2 separate regions of the Homo sapiens genome follow, and region 1 is linked to region 2. Evidence: promoter capture Hi-C in human tissues and cell types (Jung and others, 2019). All regions are on one chromosome and are shown on one strand. Each heading gives the region's core, a stretch centred on a gene start or on the middle of the fragment in contact. The rest is flanking DNA. Distances are from core to core; before and after follow the strand shown.

Evidence for each region. Contacts are between HindIII fragments. The study calls those that stand out against the background at their distance.
Region 1: a fragment that was not itself captured here is called in contact with the fragment with the promoter of MOBP in region 2 in 5 of the 25 tissues and cell types used here (hippocampus, mesendoderm cells, neural progenitor cells and 2 more).

Annotation. Positions count from the first base shown.
Region 1 is chr3:39,502,350-39,508,151 of GRCh38, reverse strand. MOBP (myelin associated oligodendrocyte basic protein) reads right to left here. Exons shown (of 4, transcript NM_001393704.1): 4 at 5,125-5,617. The coding sequence ends at 5,272. Among named protein-coding and RNA genes, the nearest start is that of MOBP, 38 kb to the right of the region's middle. RefSeq lists an enhancer at 1,761-2,260. The HindIII fragment of the contact is 4,996 bases long and covers 1-3,777 here.
Region 2 is chr3:39,464,839-39,470,406 of GRCh38, reverse strand. MOBP (myelin associated oligodendrocyte basic protein) reads right to left here and starts at 2,727. Exons shown (of 4, transcript NM_001393704.1): 1 at 2,667-2,727. RefSeq lists an enhancer at 2,427-3,109. The HindIII fragment of the contact is 13,076 bases long and covers 1-5,568 here.

The DNA of each region.
Region 1 (5,802 bases), core at 30-2,529, 39 kb before region 2:
CTATAACTGCCCAAAGGAAACTGCTTAGTGATAGGATAAACACAATTCTGCTTATACCCAGCTACTATCGTCCTGCTGTGTGCTGTTCTCCAGTGATGCTTAGCTGCCCAAAAACAAACATGGTGAAGCCAGTTAGCTGGGTTCATCAAAGGCTGGGGTTTTCCCAGGGGTGTAAGACAAATATTCAGAAGGCAGGGGATTCTAGGGTATTTGTGAACGACATTAAAATGTTGGGATATCATTTCTAATTTGGAAAGCGAGGAAAGTGGAGTCTGATAGATGGAGATAAAAATGGAGGAGTCAGAACACTGGAGGCACATGGTAAAGTTTAAGAACAGTTGCTGTGAGGGCATTTGGCAAACAAGTTGGAAGAGAAGCAGAGTGTGGATGTGGAGTTGTGTGATTCCACTGATAATTTCAGAGGTGGCAATCTGTTTCCTTTCATTGGAGAAGGAGCTCCTTAAGAACAAATGATTTATATACAGCTCTGTTGAGCTCAGCTCAGCCAGCCCTAACTACTGCCTAGAAGCCTGGTCTCTAACATTCCAGGTGTACCCTAACCTTCTCAAACTTCTAGCTCGCTCATTCTCGGGCATGACCTCTATCTTAATGCCTATTAATGGGTCTCTCTCTACTTTGCACAATCTAACAGCTTTTCTTGTTCCCATCAAAGGCCAATCCCTCCATATGTGCTATGGAGGAGACTTATTTTATCAACTACCTCCATTCCCTCTACTTTGTTTCTAGCTTGATCTCAATCCTGCACCCCTTCCCATCAGAAAGTCAAATTGGCCAGCATTTATATGCAGGGGAAAATTGGAAGTTACAATGTGCTTAGGTTTCCAACTTGGGGGATTAGTTGGACAGCTGTGTTATTTGCTGAGATAGCAAACAAAAAGAAGAACAAGTTTTGTAGGAAAGAAATCAAGTGTAGACAGATTAGGTTTTCCAACATCAAATTGATCTGCTGAGTGAATAGGCTCACATATTAATGTCAATGATGAATTAAGGTTTAGAAGTCATCACACGTGAGTCATAATTAAAACCACAAGAGAAGGCAAAATCATATAAGCAGAGAGCTCAGTAGGGAACCCTAGGGGACCTCAAGGTTGAGCAATTGGCAGAAAAGGAAGCACTCACAAGAAGATGAAGAAGGAAAGTTCCTGCAGAGAAAAGGAAGAAGAGAGTCACAGAAACCAAGAGAACAGAGAGTTTAAAGACTGAATGAGAGAACAGCCCAACAAATCCAACAGAAAGCACCACTGATATACAGATTGGGTTCAGCACTCATTAGGAAAAGCAGCATGAAGGCCACAGGTAACCATTAGAGCAAACACTACTGGTGCCTTGCCCATAACCCCTTGCCCTTACCACTCTTGTGCTCAGCCCCACTTCCAGGTGCCAGCACTTGCCTTTCTTTTCCTGAGGGCTTTTATCTTGCTGCTGCAGTCCACTTTGCCATCTCCTTAACAAGCTAGACGTGTCAAAGAATGAATGCCCCCATCCTTGAAGCAGCGTTGGCTGACTAATGTCTGACGAGAACTGGTGTATAAATATCCCAGTTCCTCCACCCCTCTGGTAAGATAACTGACGCACATGTCTACACTGTTCCCCAGAGGTCCTCGGCAGGACTAAGTCCCAGGAACCCACGGTGAGAATTGGTTAGATAATGCTTTTTTTTAATTGGCTCTTTCCCTTCCTTATCTTGCTTCCCACATTCCTCCAGTGTCCCCTTCACCTCCCAAATAAACTTCTTGCCCTTGCATTGTTACTTCTGGAGGAATCTGCACAAGAGGAATTCCAGGGGCGGGGGTGCTAAGGGAAGAAATTAGAACACAATGAATTGAAGAGCAAATGGGATTTGAGGAAGTAAAGATGACGAGTTTACACTATTCTTTTTAAAATTTGTCTAAGGTAGAGAGAAAAGAGGATAGGGCCAGACGTGAACAAACAGTCAATATGAGAGAGCAAAACACGTCAAAATGCTAATGAGAAAGAGACAAGATACAAAGGCTGAAGTGGTTAGGGGGGTTGCTAAGTTGTACAGCAAGACCTCAAAGGAGATAAGAGGTTGGAAGATCACAGGGAGGGGTGGGGGACTGGCCTCATCAGCGAATGAATGCTTCAACCTCTGAGGCTGAGGGGAAGGATTTAAAGACAGATGCATATTCTGATGAACGTGTGGGGGCTGGTGGAGCCAGGACAGTCTGGGGAGTGGCTGGGGTTCATCCATTTGTGGTGGCACCAACCCACCAGGCTATAAAGCTTTTCCCAAACTGCACTCAGCAGCTCTATGCACACATGACCATCCTCAGCAGCTGGAAAACCAATGCAGGCAGGTTGTGAGCTTGATCTAGAATCAGGGATTTATAAAACGAGTGTTGAAGGAGAATGAGAGACAATTGGGTTAAGGCTATCAGAGAAGGCGTAGTTAACCATGTGGTCTGGACCAGGTAAGGACCTGTGACCAGGCAGAGGCTGTCACACTCCAAAACAACACACAGCTCCCAGGACTGGAAGCCTCTCTGGCTAACCTAGGCCTCTGCAAAAGCATCTGTTCTGCATAAGCATTGTGCTATAGGGACCACCAGGATGTATAAAGGACTGCTCCCAGATAGGAAAGAGTATATGCCACAGATAGGGCAAAATTCAAGAGTTCAGTCACCCAAACTAATAAAAGCAATAATGCAACCTGAGACACAGGCAGAACAAGAGCCTGAACAGAAAGCAAAGAGCTCAGGCCTTTTCTCTAGCTCTGCTGTTACCTGGAAAATCATAGTCTTCCAGGCTGCTTGTGTGCAGGGCTCAATTTAATAATATAAAACATGCTGTGCAGAAAAAAATGAGTCAAAGGCACACACAGCACTTCCCAATATATGTGACTGATTGACTCCAAATTAACCACCCACAGCCATGGTGGTTTTCAAAGAACCACAGATCCCCAGCTCCCAAAAGCAGAACACTGAAACCAAAAGAGGCCCAGGACATACCTGTTAAACCCAAAGGCAAGGACAACCTTGTGAAATCCTAAAATCTTAGAACTGGGAGGACAGAATAAACTAAGAGGGAGATGCCACGGTTTCCTCCTATCAAATATTATGAATGCTACCATGTTTAATCAGGATGCTGGAAATCGTACAATCAGTTTCTAAGATTAAATCATTCTCTGGTTTTTGAGAAGACCTATCCAAGGGAGTTATTAAGAATCCAATTAGGCCTTTGCCAAAATTATTTAACCTCTAAAAGCAATACCTCAGAAATAGCACTGTTTCAGAAAGCAAGTTGGCTTCAGAAAATCTTTTTTACCCTTTCTTCATGTGCAAGTTAGTAGCTCTGCTTAAGAGCAAATATTTCCCATCACATCAACCTGCCTCCCACTCCTTTGATTCAAAATAGTCAATCAGTATCAATAAAAGGAATAGACAATATGATGAAGAAGTGGCTCCAATATATTACCTGAAGACCTTTGGGAATCTAAGAAGGAAAAATGAATATCTCAAATAGGACTCAAGACAGTGCATAAGTGAAGTCAGGGGACATTACGAATGAAGACTTTCAGATCCTCTGTTCCCAGGTAAGGGACAATGGCTGAGGAGGTAATAACGGCCTGTGGAGGCACCTTCTGATACCCACTGAAATTAGTTAACTGAGGGAGTCAAAGCACACCAACACTAGGGTATCTCCTGAATTTAGGTGAATACACTGATCCAGGTTAGGTCCAGACAAATCTGTGGGTATGGTGAAGTTTGCTTTCATTGTCTTCTAACTCCTTTCCATGTCCTGATTGAACTCCAGCCACCCAAAGCCACCACTATAGGTGGCATGCCTTTTATACAATTAATTTCCTCTGTTTCATACATTTTCTAACTACTTCCATATATCAATACTTACCTGTCCTAGGACCCTTCTACTCAGGGTCCTTAAGAGGGACTCAGTTAATGACTAGGTAACCTGTCATACAACTTGCTATTAAAGTTTTAGTGACTAGTTACTTCCTTCACAAATTAAACTTGCCTAATCTTGTGCCTTTTTAATGCTTTCACTTTTGGTACCATAAATTTATCACTCTCCACATTTCTTTACCTCACATCACAAATAATCTGGATTATTCATTTATGGATTGTTTAGGTCAGCATTGCTCATTGTGTAGTCTGCGTACTGTCTACATAACTGTACCTTTGCGGGGTGAATGCTTACTAAAAAGGCACATACCCAGGCCTTAGTGGTGACCCAAAAATCACATTTTCTAGGGGCATCTTTAACATTCTTCCCCATTGACTCTTCTTCCTACTAAATCAGTAAACATCATGTGATACCTACACATAGTAGATGCTACACAAGTGCTGGGTATCAGAGTAGATATGAGAATCTCAAATACAATTAACACCCACTACTAACTTATAAACAGATTCAGTTCCAAATAGTAAAAGGTCTAAAAAGTTGGCATGCTGATATACCTTCAGAACAGTAAAATAAATAAATAAATAAATAAAAAATTGGCCAGGCATGTGTGTATTGGGGCAAGAATATAGAGGAAATCTCTGTACCTTCCCCTTAATTTTGCTGTGAACCTAAAACTGCTCAAAAAAAAAAAAAAATAGCCTACAGAGCCAATAACTCCCTGCTTATGGTTCTCATGGTCCCATGTACATGCATATTATGAAAACATTAGGGCACTGATCCCTACACGATGACACCTATTCTCTTATTTGGTCCTGGTAAATCTCAAACAACACGGCTTCCTCACTGCCATATTCCCTTCCCCCAGCACATCAAATGGAACTTTACAGGTATGCAATAGGATTTGTTGAGTAAGTGAATGAGTGAATGAATGAATGGTATTGCCACTGAGATTGACATCAGATGAAGTGTGTTGGGAGATGGATGGGTCCAATGGATTACCCTCTCCTTTTACTTATACGGATATTGATTAGAGTCACCATTCGTTATCTCCCTGAGGCATAGGCATTGAGGAACTCATTTATTCAATCTGTTACCATGGTCAATAATCTCAATTGATAGATTAACAACTTCCAGTCCTATTAGACAACGGAAGCAATGGCCACAGCCACCTGAAGTATGCACCAATAGCACCTAGGAGGAAACCAGAAGCCACACTAGGTATTTCAAACAGAGGGGATTTAATGGAGGGAGCTGATTACACAGGTTGGGTAATAAGGCTGAAGAGGGCCATGGAGACAGCCCGGTGTTAGTAAACACAGGAAGCAACTACTAACCTTAGGGCTGGGGAACAAAAGGGAAGAGATGGTGTTACCAGAACCTAGAAGCTTTGACGGGGGACCCCCCACGGCTGGCGCCTGGCCCTCTGAGGGGGCTGCTGCGCGGCTGTTGCTTGGACTTCTGAGGGGGACGCTGCTTGGCTGGCGGTGGTCGGACCTCTGGGCGGGGACGTGGCTGACGCTCAGACCTCGGAGGGGACCGTGGCTGACGCTCAGACCTCGGAGGGGACCGTGGCTGACGCTCAGACCTCGGAGGGGACCGTGGCTGACGCTCAGACCTCGGAGGGGACCGTGGCTTGGCTGGCGCTCTGACCACCGCGGGGGGCGCAGCTGGCTGTTGCTTGGGCCTCTGAGGGGACTTGGCACGGCGGCTGGTTCTGAGAGGGCCAAAAGAAGCTGGAGGCGGGAGCCAGGGCTCTCCTCTGCTGCTTAAGCGACGCTGGCAGGAGCTGGAAACAGGTAGGAAGGCCCTGCTCCCCCACCCACCTTCCAGTCTCCCTGGAGTGCCTTCCGGTGTCGGAGCCTAACCCGGAGCCGACTAGGGGGAAGAGTGGGGTGCGGA
Region 2 (5,568 bases), core at 1,478-3,977:
CTACCTCACAGATTTTGTTGAGAAGACTTGTTTTACGAATGTCTGGTACAGCTGAAGGATCTCAGAGTTTTGATTCCTGTCCCCATAAGGGGACAGTTTTTAACAGTTTTGGCCAGTTATTTTGCTAGTTGTCCCTCAATATGGGTGTGGTCTGTAGTTCAGTGCTGAGGTGTGAGTACTAGAACATGTAGGAAACACTTTTGATCAGGAGACTTTTTGCAGCGTTGCCAGAGGTCCGCCTCCTCCACTAGGGCAGACGTCCCCGTCAACCCGCGAAAGGATGCCAGCCAGCCTGGAGTGGCTACCCAGGGAAACTCTATTGAGTTGTATCTGCTTTCAGCAGATGGTTGCACTTAGAAAGGAATTATTATATTTATGAAACTAATACTCAGAGAGCAGTAGACATGACTCCAACACACACAAAGAATCTAAATTGAATACCTCACTTTAAGCCTATAAGATCACATACAGGTCACTGTAATTGCTATTTATAATCCAAGGGCAATACTTACACACTTTTGGTGATTCCTTGGAAATTATCTGTAAAAGCTCTAGATTTTTAATTTTTGGCAATTTGGTGTACAAAGATTTTAGGTACTCATTTAAAATCCTAGTAACTATTAGGTAAACAAGATCTTGAATTTAAAAATTGTATACTCAGATTCAAGTATGAATTTGGATATGTATGATCTAAAATGCAAGCCTATTCCTTTGAAAACTGCATAATTGTGAGAAAACTGCAGACCAAACCCATATTGAGGGACATTTAGCAAAATAACTGGCTTATACTCTCCAAAACTGTCTAGGTCAAAGCTGCCTCAGGTGTGGTTCCAGACTAAAGGAGGCTGAGGGGACAGGACAACAAAAGGTCATGCATGGTTCTCAATTCGCTCCTTGGACAATTGATGAAATCTAGATATCTCTAGATTTAAAAACAGTATTTTCTCAATAGTAATTTTCTAATTTTAATTAATTCCAATTAAAATAAATTTTAATTAATTCCAATTAAAATAAATTTTAATTAATTCCAATTAAAATAAATTTTAGTTAATTCCAATTAAAATAAATTTTAATTAAAATTAATTAGATATAAATATGTGTATATATACATATACACACATATGTATATATATCTATACATATACACACACATATATGTATATATACACACACATATGTATATATGTATATACACACACATGTATATATGTATATACACACACACACATGTATATATGTATACACACACACATATGTATATATGTATATACACACACATATGTATATATGTATATATACACACACATATGTATATATGTATATACACACACACATATGTATATATGTATATACACACACATATGTATATATGTATATATATACACACATATGTATATATGTATATATACACACACATATGTATATATGTATATATACACACACATATGTATATATGTATATATACACACAATGTATATATGTATATATACACACTCATATGTATATATGTATATATACACACACATATGTATATATGTATATATACACACTCATGTATATATGTATATATACACACATATGTAATATGTATACACACACATATGTATATATACACACACATGTATATATGTATATATACACACACATGTATATATGTATATATACACACACATATGTATATATGTATATACACACACATATGTATATATGTATATACACACACATATTTTTATATATACACCCATATGTATGGATACAGAGAGAGAGAAAGAGAATGATAAAGGAAATATGGTAAAACAGGAACATCTGGGTAATTTGGCTGCACCTGAAATTTTCTGTATTGTTTGCAACTTTTCTGAAAATCTGAAACAATTTTTAAAACTCACTCACCAACAAGTTTCCTGTCATTCTAAATACGAAACAGCATATCCGCACACCTGGCAGCAGCCTGCTCTCTGCCTCCCTGATTTATTCACAAAGAATTAAAAAGTCCTTTCCCCGTTTTCCTGCTAGTACTGTAGGCCAAGTTCATTACTCGCCTCCCTGACACATAATATTTTTTCCTTTCTCTGTCATCCATAGAACTGAAAACTCCCTGTTGTTTCTAAGATATTCTGTATCAGACAAAGCATTAGCGCCTTTCCATTTAAGGTTGTTGGTCTACAGGGGGCAGAATTCCGAAAAGATTTGGGCTTTGTTGTTCCATTAAGATCCCCCACACATAAATCCAACTGTATGAGGAAAAAAATTGTTCCTAGATAAGAAGAAAAACTCATTTTTAAATCATGACAAATAATAAAAGAAGAAATAAATTAAAAAAAAAAAAGCAGCAGCAGCAGCAGCATGTACTACCATCCATCTAGCTCCAGGAACATGGGGCTTTGAATCTGAGGAAATCTGAGTAAGGGCTCAGAGCCTCTCTCTGGGCTCAGACGATTTCCAAACATTAGCAGGAACATTCCAGGAGGCCCCCTGCCCACATCAGAATAAACATGGTGTCCTCTGTTCTTGTTTTCTCCATCCTTGTATGTCCTCTCAATCTTGACTATTCTTACAGAAAGTTTTCCCTGGGATATAATGAAATGGCCCATACAAAAAAGTACACTTGTCATTTAAAGATGAAAGTATAAAATGAAGTAAAATAAAAACCAATGGAATCCTCTTACCTTCAAATAGCAGTTGTTGTGTGAAACAGATTCTGCGTCTATACCAGGTCCCTGAGGGTTTGAGCCTACTTCAATGCATGCAGAATATATAGGGAGAGGTTATAGATCTGGGTTTTTCATTACACAAGGTGTTTTTGATGAGTCCTCAGCGAAGATCCACTTAAAAACAAAAGCTACACAAAGACTACAAAAAGGCCACACAAAGTTTAAACAAAAGGCTAAAGAAAGACCAAACAAAAGCCAAAGAAAGTTTAAACAAAGAGCGAAACAAAGATAAAACAAAGGCCAAAGACAAAAACAAAGAGCAAAAGAAAATCTAAACAAAAGCTAAGCTAAGCTATAACCATATCTCACACACACATACACACGCACCCCACATTCACTCTACAGCCCCCCAACATTCACATATTCCAGCCTCCCACCTCCCACATAATCAACACCCCATGTGAAAACTCACCCCTCAAGGTTCATTCCACATAAACTCCAGTTAAGTTCCATGCCAGGTCCAACCACACCACACACCAGCTCACCCTACCAAACCACACACCCTTCCACCAACATGCTATGCCACCACAGCGCCATCCCACCCAGCACCCCATACCTCACTCACACATCACAAGCCATACCCATAAGCCATGAACACAGCTGCAATCACATTGACAAATTCCAGGAGTTTTTATACTCCATGTAGATTAAATACCGATCACACTTCCTTCCCTAAAACACTCATGTATACCCATAGATACACCCCAAAACTAAAATTCACACAAGCATGCCCTTGTACACTTGATTAGCAAGAGTCTAATCCAGTCTAGTTACAACTAACATTGAATTTGGAAGTTTCCATGACAATTACCCTATGCATTCACATTTATGAAAACACGTATAAATCATCTCTTATGTTGAACAGTTTCTGCGAATGATAAATCTCATTCAATTAACATTTTATTGGCTTCAGTCTTAGACACCGGCATTTTCTTATAATTTTCCTAACCTAAAATGTGGGGCCACACCTTTCTGTGCTCTGTTAAATGCCATGGGTCCTGTAACTCTGCTTCTGCTATTTATTTTATATATGTAGAACTAGAACTACCCACTAATGATTTGAAAGATGAAAGCTTACTTCTGAAACCAATCCAACCAACAGCAGCCTTGCCTTTTGAATTCCCAGCGCCCCCTCCATGACAGTGTAATATAAATGTCAACATTACCACCAAGTTTCTCTTTAGGCTCTTGTCTCAGTAAAGAATCAGCCAGGGAACCTTGAAAAGGTAATCCAGTGAGACTACAAACATTGACTATAAATCTCTTTGTACACTAACATTTTTGTTTTTGTTTTTGTTTTGAGACGGAATCTGGTTCTGTCCCCCAGGCTGGAGTGCAGTGGCGCTCTCACCTCACTGCAACCTCCACCTCCTGGGTTCAAGCTATTCTTCTGCCTCGGCCTCCCGAGCAGCTGGGACTACAGGCACCCACCATCATGCCTGAATAATTTTTGTATTTTTTAGTAGAGACAGGGTTTCGCCATGTTGCCCAGGCTGGTCTCAAACTCCTGACCACAGGTGATCCGCCTGCCTTGGCTTCCCAAAGTGCTGGGATTACATGCTTGAGCCACCGTGCCTGGCCTCTTCGTATACTAACTTTATAGTTAATTAAACATTCTCTGAGTAATGAGTTATAGACGTATGCTGGTTGATTCACTCCCACTGTGATGCCAGTATTTTGCTTGTGTTGTACTGACTGTGACTGAGGGCTGGGGAGTAGGGTAAGATGGTTTAGAGCTTGAGCTCTGGAGGCACTGACACTAGGATCATCACAGGACCCACCTCAAGGATTTGAGTGAGGACTAAATCAGTTAATATGTGTTCACTGGTGGAAAGAATGCCTGGCACACAGAGTCCTGCACCAATGTCACTCTTATGGCCCTGGCCCTAAAGAAGGTTACCAACAGGGGTGGGTGGCAGTTGTAAGGACTTGTTTTCTATTCACAAAATAACTGGAGACTAATTCAGGCTATTTAAAAAATACAAGATCTAGTAGATATATTATAAAGCTCTATCTTTATTAAAAGACCCTCTGCTTCTCAAATCTTTCCAACAAAAGTTCTTAATGACACATTTTGGGGAAGTCCCATCTTTGATCTTCTACTCCACCATATATAGAGTGATATACAATTTACACAACCAAAGTATGGAGGTTCCACAAAATGCTTGTAATGCCATCTTTTTCTATTTCTACTTAAATGTTAGTGTTTGCCCTTAGTGCGGTGGCACCCTCACTCCCAGAACCACTGGGGAGGCCACGTCTGAGTCAGTGTCACTCTTCTTGAATGGCAGCCTGTGTTCCACACAGAGCAAGACCTCCCAGGACTCACAGTCACAATTAAGAAACTTGCTAACACTACAGAGGATTTTCCCACAGAAACTTTGGCTACAATTGACAATCCCCACATGTTATGAGTTAAAATGTGTCCCATCCCTCATCTCTCAAATTCCTTTGTTGAAGTCCTAACCCTTAGTATCTCAGAATTTGGAATGAGGCCGGGTGCAGTGGCTCACTCCGGTAAGGCCAGCACTTTGGCCAGGAATTTGAGACCAGCCTGGCCAACAGGGCAAAACCCCATCTCTACTAAAAATACAAAGAAATTAGCCAGGTGTGGTGGCATGTGCCTAACATTACAGAGGATTTTAATTCCCAGCTACTCAGGAGGCTGAGAATCGAGAATCGCTTGAACCTGAGAGGCAAAGGTTGCAGTGAGCCAAGATTGCACCACTGCACTCCAGCCTGGGTGACAGAGCAAGACTCTGTCTCAAAAAAAAAAAAAAAAAAAGAATTTGGATTCAAATAAGGATTTGAAGACAGACCACAGAGGTGATCAAGTTATGAAGTCATTAGGGTGGGC